Regions from separate parts of the Homo sapiens genome. Here region 2 is linked to region 1. The links are contacts of gene promoters, found by promoter capture Hi-C in human tissues and cell types (Jung and others, 2019). All regions are on one chromosome and are shown on one strand. The core of a region is centred on a gene start or on the middle of the fragment in contact, and the rest is flanking DNA. Distances in the headings are between cores, read along the strand shown. Region 1 holds the start of MGAT5B (alpha-1,6-mannosylglycoprotein 6-beta-N-acetylglucosaminyltransferase B). Region 2 holds the start of LOC105371899 (a long non-coding RNA gene).

The links. The method cuts DNA at HindIII sites, captures the fragments that hold promoters and counts their contacts. A contact is called where the count stands out against the background at its distance.
Region 2: a fragment that was not itself captured here is called in contact with the fragment with the promoter of MGAT5B in region 1 in 2 of the 25 tissues and cell types used here (adrenal gland and dorsolateral prefrontal cortex).

What each region holds. Positions count from the first base shown.
Region 1 is chr17:76,866,548-76,870,577 of GRCh38, reverse strand. It overlaps MGAT5B (alpha-1,6-mannosylglycoprotein 6-beta-N-acetylglucosaminyltransferase B), which reads right to left and starts at 2,174. Exons shown (of 18, transcript NM_001199172.2): 1 at 1,481-2,174. The coding sequence starts at 1,548. RefSeq lists a silencer at 2,030-2,339 and an enhancer at 2,677-2,971. The HindIII fragment of the contact is 29,656 bases long and covers 1-4,030 here.
Region 2 is chr17:76,965,677-76,969,706 of GRCh38, reverse strand. It overlaps LOC105371899 (a long non-coding RNA gene), which reads left to right and starts at 508. Exons shown (of 3, transcript NR_136417.1): 1 at 508-823. RefSeq lists an enhancer at 1-329 and a silencer at 578-657. The HindIII fragment of the contact is 4,995 bases long and covers 1-4,030 here.

The sequences.
Region 1 (4,030 bases), core at 925-3,424:
GTCGCGAGCACTGTCCGTGGTGCTGGGGTCTCGCGGCTGCTTCCAATCGCGCCAGGAAACACCCAGCGGCCCGGAGGGCGGGACAGGGATGGGGTCGGAAGGGGCGAGGACCCTCCAGCGTTCCCAGTCAGGCCAGGGATTCAAGGCCTTCCCTGGAGGAGCAAGGCCCTTTCCAGAGACGCCTGCTTCCCGCCCTGCTTCCCATGGGCTCCCGACGCCCCCATCACCACCCACGGCCTGCACCAGCTCTCCGGGCCTCCCGGACCCCCGGACCGCAGAGGTCCAGCCTGACCCCTGCCGTCCCCTGGGGTTGCCTCCTCGGCCCAGCAGACAGGCCCGGTGTGCTGGGAGGCGGGCTCCAGGTGAGCCACCGTCTCCCCGCCCCCATCCCCGTCTGGAGCCGGCAGGGGGACCACAGTGGGGCTGGGCCGAGACCTGGAGGGCAAGAGTTCAGGGCCCCTGCAAGCTCCGCCTTCTCGGGCTCCTTCCCGCGCCCGGAGCCCACCTGTGGCCACGTCCCGAGTCCGGCCCCCGCGCCGGGGCGGTCACTCCCCCAGCTTCCTCGCTGCCCAGCTACCCACGGGGTGACACTCGGGCCCCGCCGGGCGTCCACTGGGCAGCGCCCCCTCCCCACCCCGCTGCGGGCCGGTTCCGCGGATGCCTGGGAGGAGAGGGGGCTGCCCCGGCACCGCTGGGCCCTGGGGGCCCCTGGCTGGGTCCAGTGAGTCCCGCGCGGCCCCAGCCCTGCCTGGCCTGGGCCCCCAGGTGTTGGCCGCCCGAAGCGTGTCGCCTTCGCCACCGCCCGCCCACCACGCTCCGCCGCAGCCTCGGCTCCAGCCGCCCCGTAGCCCTGCAGCGCCGCCCCTGCCCCCGCCTCTCCGACGCCTGCGATCGGGGGCGAATCCTGGGATGAGCGAGTCCTCGCTCTAATCTCGGGACCCTCTCGTCGGAGCCAGGCCCGAGCCCCGCGGGGAGGAGAGCAGTGCCACCAAAGGCTGGGGAGAGGGTGGCACAGGCGGAGGGGTTGGGGGGTAGCCGACCTAGGGGCAGACGGGCGGGACGGGAGGGACCGGAGGGGGAGCTCCAAGGCGCCGCACACTAACTTTGCCACCCGGATGGGACCGTCCGCGGGGTGAGGAAGGACCCTGAGGGGCTGGGAAGGGGCGCGCAGGCTGGGGCAACTTTCTGGGCCCAGGACCACGACCTGGGGGTTTTCTGCCCCCATTCTTACCTCTGCACCCCGAGTCCTCTCCAACCCTGCCCAACTCGGGACAGGTCCCCGAATAACACAACCCTCCCCATCCGCACCCCGAACCCCAACGCCATCCGTTCCCCCAGCCCAGCCCCACTGGTCATCACCAGGGGTTGAAGTGTGAACCGCCCCCTCTGCCACCAGGACTTGAACGTTCGCAGGAACCGACCTCGCCCACCTCCACCCGGCGCCCCCCTGGGGAAAAAACCAACCAGGAGGGAACTTTACCGAAAGGGTCTCAGGGTGACCAGGCATCTTCTGACCATTATCTTCCCATCGGGGTTGACGGTGATCATTGTTCAAACTTGTTGGTGCGAGCAGCCGCGGGCGAGGCCGGACGCACCGTCCTGGGCCCAGCTCTCGCCGCGTCCGGGCCACGAACCCTCTGCGGGCCGAAGCCGCGTCCGAGCGAAGCTGGGAGCGCGCGGCCCGGTGGCCTCGCTGCTCAGGCCTGGGCGTGCAGCGGAGGGAGCGGCGCGGCTGCCGGAGGGCGGCGAGGGCGCCCGGCCGGGCCGTCTCTGCGTCTCCGCCCTCCCCGCTTCACATTTTGGGGACCGGGAGGCGGCGCGCCCCCAGACCGCCGGCCGCGCGTCTGCCTGCTCGGGCTCGCTCGCTGGGCGGGAAGGTGCCGCGGCGCGCAGACGGGCTCCCCGCGGCGGGCGCCCTCATCCCCGGCCCCGCGCCCTCGGTGCCGGCTAAAGGCGGCCCCGGGCCCGCGCCCCGGTCCCCAGCGCCTCCGGGCCGCGCCGATCCTCAGCCCCGCGCCGCGCCGCGCCCATGGCTCTCGACGAGGGCAACCCGCGCCCGCCGCGCGCTCTCTCGCCCGCTGGCTCCGCCGCCCGCGCTCTGGTGTCCGGCGTCCGGCCCCGCGCGACGCTACGCCCGGAGGCGCCGCATTGTTCCTCGGAGGAGGCGGCCGAGCGGCGCTGGGGCGGCCCGGGAGCTGCAGCTGCGCTTCCAAGGCGCGCCGGCGCCACCTCGTGGCCGCAGCCCCGCTGTGCGCCCTGCCCGGGGCCGTGCGGGGCTGGGACGCCGAGGACCAGCTTCGAGGACGGGCGGGCGGGGGTCCCTGCTCCTTCCCCTGAGCCAAGCAGCTTCCCAGGGCGCCACCAGCCCCGAGGGCCGAAAGCTGCTTTGGCTCCCGCAGAGCACAGAAGAGATGCGCACCCAGCGGAGACCCTTCTCTTCTGCCAGGTGCCTCCGTGGGCTTCCTCATCAGCCGCTTCCCACGATTTCGCTTGGCAACACATGCCTATCTTCTGCCCCTCCCTGGTCAGAAACTCCCGTGGCTCCTCTTTGCTTACTGATCTGAGTATAAACTCGGCCTGTGGTGCTGGGGCCCGCTCACAGAGCCAGGCGCAGGGGCGTACTGAGTTGTAGCCCCAGATCCTCCACTAGCCAGTGGGCGATCAAGTGTGCACGTCTCAGAGTCTCCATTATGAAATGATAGTGACCAGAAGCTCACCAAGGTCCCTTGCAACCCTAAAGCATGTAGGATCTCATGTCGTCTCTTAGCATCTAGGCGTCCTCCCCTCCCCCTCCTCGTACTTCCTGGCTCTGGAGATGTGTTTGCAGTTGCAGAGACAGAGACTCCTGGGAGCTCGCAGAGCCAGCCTGAAGAAAGCTCTCCGGCTTCAAAAGCACTTCCCGAGGTCATATCTGACCACCCCACCCTGGGAAGTGCCCAAAGCCTCAGTCATGTGTCAAATGACTCTGAGGGTCTTCCCAGCTCAGGCCACGATGCTGCAGCCTGGCTTATGCGAGGAGGAGACTTTATTTTCCTCCAGCTGGGCCTGGTCCCCTCCAATCCCCCATACCCAGGCCCCTTGCTGCCTGCCCTGCCCACCTCCCGGCCCCCTTCCTGGGCCATTACTCACTGGCCATGACTCACGCTCTCTGCTTTGCTGCTCCTTCTTCATCAAAATTTACCGGTGCTGAGTTCCATTATCTCACTGCCTTGCTCTCTGCTAATGTGAAAATGGGTGATAAATTGGTGTTAGCAGATATAATGTGTTACACAGGCTAGGTAACAAATTTGCATTGAACAAGGACATGCTGACCGTGCCTTTGTGCAGAAGAGTGATGAATGGTGGCCGGAAATTTGGGCATCGTGGCAGGCTGGCTAAGGAGATGTTGGAGGGCAGAGGTCTCTGCCAGGCCTGTAAATCACATCTCATGCCTGGGTGCCTACATCTGCCACAAATCCTGGCAATAAGCCATATCTACACTAAGGAATGAAATGGTCCTTCTGATTAGGTGTCTCTCTTCTGATTGGGGGTTCTTCTGATTGAGTAGGCTTAGGGGGTGGCATTTATATCTGGTTGCCATTTTAGGCCAAAGGGGAAGCCTCTTCCTCAGTGGTGGAGATGGGGTTCCCTAGAAGGCATGGCCACCTCTGGTGTGGGTCATCTGGGGAGGTGGCCTACCCTCCACAGAAGCCAGAATTTAGAAGGTAGGGGAAGGTACTCCCCTCTTCCCCTGGGCCACACACCCTTAGATCTGGACTTTGAAGTTGGAGCGGGAAAGCCTCTCTGCCATTTGACGGCTGGCTTGGGCCAGGGAGGGAAGCAAGCAGAGGACAGCCAGTGACTTTTTTTTTTTTTTTTTTTTTTTTTTGAGATGGAGTCTCGCTCTGTTTCCCAGGCTGGAGTACAGTGGCGCAATCTCGGCTCACTGCAAACTCCGCCTTTTGGGTTCAAGAGATTCTTCTGCCTCAGCCTCTTGAGTAGCTGGGATTACAGGCACGTGCCACGATACCTGTAATAAATGCCTATAAAA
Region 2 (4,030 bases), core at 1,092-3,591, 99 kb before region 1:
GGTGCAGAGGGGGCACCAGGAAGGGCTGGAACGGGGCACTAGGTTCTCCGGGCGGGAAGCGCTGCACAGAGCCACTGGGCGGAGCGGCCGGAACTCCAGGGGAGCTCGCGCTGCCTGCCAGGCTCTTAGCAGGCTGAGCTCATGCAATTGCCCTGAAGACCCCGGATGGAGATCGCACAGTGCCCCCCTCACCGATGAGTCTCACTGCACTTTATGGCAGCCTTGCCTCAAGAAATTTCTATTTTCACCACCAAGGGTTGGTCTTAGGCTTCAGCCTTGGATCCTGCCCTCTGGGGACCCCTCTCCTCCTCCCCGACTTAGGAGGAGAAGGCAGGGCTGGGGCGGGTGAGCAGCCGAGGGTCTCCAGGCAGAGCTCCTCATGCATAAAACAGGCGGGCTTTTCCTCCGCAGCTAATCAGAACCTCTGGGCCGAAAGATGCAAATGAAGGGCCTCGTCAAGTCATTTCCCTTGCAAATGAAGCTGCCGCTCCGGCGCTTTTTCCTCTTGAATACCTCATCAACACCGCAGGTGACCCGGAGCCCGCTGCTCCGCTCGGCCCCGCCCCGGGCAGCTATTTGGCACATTTCAATTAGCGTAACGGGTGCCTGGTAAACAGCCGAGGCCGGCTGCGGGCACCTGCAATCCCCGACCCCCGACGCCCTCCCCGAGACCCTGGAGACGCGGCTCCGCCCCCACCGGTAATTAGGAGATTTTCAAGGCCTATGTCCCCAAAGCCCAGCCCAGCTGGAGAGATCAGCCCTGCGGTCCTGCCGCGCACTCCACCGCCAGCCTCTCGGGAGTCAAGGGATCCGCCTTCAGGGTGTAAGTGGGGCTGGGGAGCCTCGGGAGAGGAAGGGTGGTGTTTGGGGAGTCCAGGCCAGTTCTTAAGGCAGACGGCTACGGGCCACGTCCGCTGGCAGAGCTCAGCTTCAGATAAACCCAGGGATGAAGAAAAACTCAAGCCGCTCACCCTCTGGGTGCCTCAAAGTCTTTCTATCTGTAACATAGGCTAATGAAATTACCTTCCTTGTAGGGACTTAGGAGTAAATGAGATGATCTGGGTATAGCCTTTGCAACAGTATCTGGAACTTAGGAATTGCTCAATAGGGGCCAGGCGCGGTGGCTCACGCCTGTAATCCCAACACTTTGGGAGGCCAAGGCGGGCAGATCACCTGAGGTCAGGAGTTCGAGACCAGCCTGGCCAGCAATGGTGAACTCTTGTCTCTACTAAAAATACAAAAAATTAGCCGGGCGTGGTGGCGCACGCCTGTAATCCCAGCTACTCAGGAGGCTGAGGCAGGAGAATCGCTTGAACCTGGGAGAGGGAGATGGCAGTGAGCCGAGATGGCGCCATTGCACTCTGGCCTGGGCGACGAGCGAAACTCCGTCTCAAAAAAAAAGAGAAAGTGCTCAATAGATGCTAGCCACAATTTTTGTTAATATTCTATCAGCGCTTCCCTGAGTGCAGATATCAAACCCACCACAGAGTGTACAGTGATCCTACTACAGAAATAGCCACTTACCGTGGGAGGGAGGATGAATTACTTAACCTCTGTGCTGCTGTTCTTGAGCATAAATAATGTACCTATTTTGCCTGGCGGGGTGGCTCATGCCTGTAGTCCCAGCACTTTGGGAGGCCAAGGCAGGAGGATCGCTTGAGGTCAGGAGTTCGAGGCCAGCCTGGGCACCATAGCAAGATCCCGACTCTACAAAAAGTAAAAAAATTAGTTGGGCCTAGTAGTGTGCACCTGTAGTCCCAGTTACTGAGGAGGCTGAAGTGGGAGGGCCACTTGAGCTCCTCAGCCTCCTGGTTGAAGCTGCAGTGAGCTGTGATTGGGCCACTGTACTCTAGCCAGGGCAACAGAGTGAGATCCTGTCTCTAAAAATAAAGTACCTATTTTGTGGGGTTACTTGGGGGACTGACAGATAACAGAGCTCAAGTGCTCTTTAAGGACTTTGAACCAGATTGCTGCATCCAAATCCTGGCCCCACCCCACCTAGCTGTGTGACCTTGGGCAAACTACTTAAAGTCGCTATGCCTCTGTTCCTCCTCGTAGCATGAGGGCATGTAGTAGTTCTCACTACTAGGATTATAAGGCATTGCTAGAGAATACTTTTTATAAAGGAGTATCATGGCTTCATCAAATAGAACAAACACGTGTCCATGGTTTTATTTAACTCATTAATTCACGAGGGATCCTGCAAGGTGCTACAACCAAGTTCAAAGGAGAATTCAAAGGGCACTCCTAAGTAGGCAGTCAGGAACATGGAAATGAATTTACAAATAGATGCAAAACTGGCCACAAGGCAGGAATCAATTGCATTCCATCCAAAGCTTCCTTCTTGGCACTGAGCTTGGGTGTGGGGACCCCTTGCCAGGGCTTCTGAGGCCAGAGCTCCTGGGGTCATCATGGCCTGTCCAGCCATCCCTTTTCAGGACCTGTCACCTTGTAGGGAGCCTCCTAGGACTGGGACACAGGTTCCCCCACCCTCCGAATCATCTGCCCTCAAAGCTCCAATCCTCTTCCTTTCTGGGGAACATTTAGTGACATTTTGTGAAACTGTCTCCCATTCTCCAAGCCTCAGAGCCGTCCCACCCTCAGAAGTTTATCTTCCACCCTCCTAGCCCTTAGGGGTGGATGAGAGAGGAGAGAGAGGGGAGAGAGGGGAGAGAGGGGAGAGAGGAGAGAGAGGAGAGAGAGGAGAGAGAGGAGAGAGAGGGGAGAGAGGGGAGAGAGGGGAGAGAGGAGAGAGAGATCTGAATTCGGATTCTTTTAAAGTGAGGACAAATGACACATTACCACGCTGGGAAATCATCCTGCCCCAAATGGTCACTACTTTAAAATGTTACCTTGCGTCTGTTCAGAGGGGGCTTCTCAGTTCACCCAGGAGGGAGAGACCCTCAGAACTCTGCCAGTCATCTTCTCAGGGAAGCCTTTCCTGTCCTCACCTCCCACCTCGTCCCAGCAGCCCGGCTCTGCGTTGCCAGAACTCCAGGGCTTAGCTCAGGCCCTACAGGTGTGGTCTGTCTGCCTGCAATGACCCAGGAGCTCCCTGAGGGCAGGGCTGGGTCTTCATCTCCCCACTGTCTGGCATCATCCTAGCAGGGATGGAGCTCAACACATAGCCCAGCCGAAGTCCCCCAGATGAATGAGCAAACCCTGAGTCTTGGTTGAGGCTTGGTTCATGCAGCAGGCTCGTGCCTTGGCCCTGGGAAAGCTCCCAGATGAGTTGGGCTGGGCAGAGGTGCAGGGCCCTCAGCCTCTGGCTTACCCCACTCTCTTCCACTTTACTCCACTCCACTCTCATCTCCTCGATCCACCCCACCTCTGCTAGTTAGCGAAGCTCCTTGGAGATTCCTCTTGAATTTTCATTAATTTCTATTGAATAATTAAAACCAGGAAATTAATACTTTCATCCTAAACCTGAATTGCAGTGTGTGGTTTTTCATAATTATAATTCCACTGTAGCATTAAATGTTCAAGTGAGCCATCCCTCTCCAGGGGCAGAGGGGACAAAGAGCCATGTCCTGGGGGCTTAAACACAGTATTTGGCTCAGGATAGGCACGCAATAATTACTTTTTAATGGATGGATGGATGGATACATGGGTGGGTGGAAACAAAGACCTTTCCAGGACCCAGCAACTGATACCCCAAAACATGGCGCTTTGACATGAGGTGGCCTCAAGGTCTCTCTGACCTCCCCCGCAGTCCTCTGTCTCTCTCAGAGCACAGGATGAAGCCGATCTCTGAAGTTTCCTTATCTACCCGGAAACCAGACCTGCCAAAGAAGGATGCAATTGCCTTCCCTGAGGCTTTTCTTTTCTTTTCTTTTGAGTTTTTGTCTTTTTGTTTTTTTTGAGACAGAGTCTCACTCGGTTGCCCAGACTGGAGTGCAGTGACGTGATCTCAGCTCACTGCAACCTCCGCCCCCCAGGTCCAAGCAATTCTCCTGCCTCAGCCTCCCAAGTAGCTGGGACTACAGGCACACGCCACCACGCCTGGCTTATTTTTGTATTTTTAGTAGAG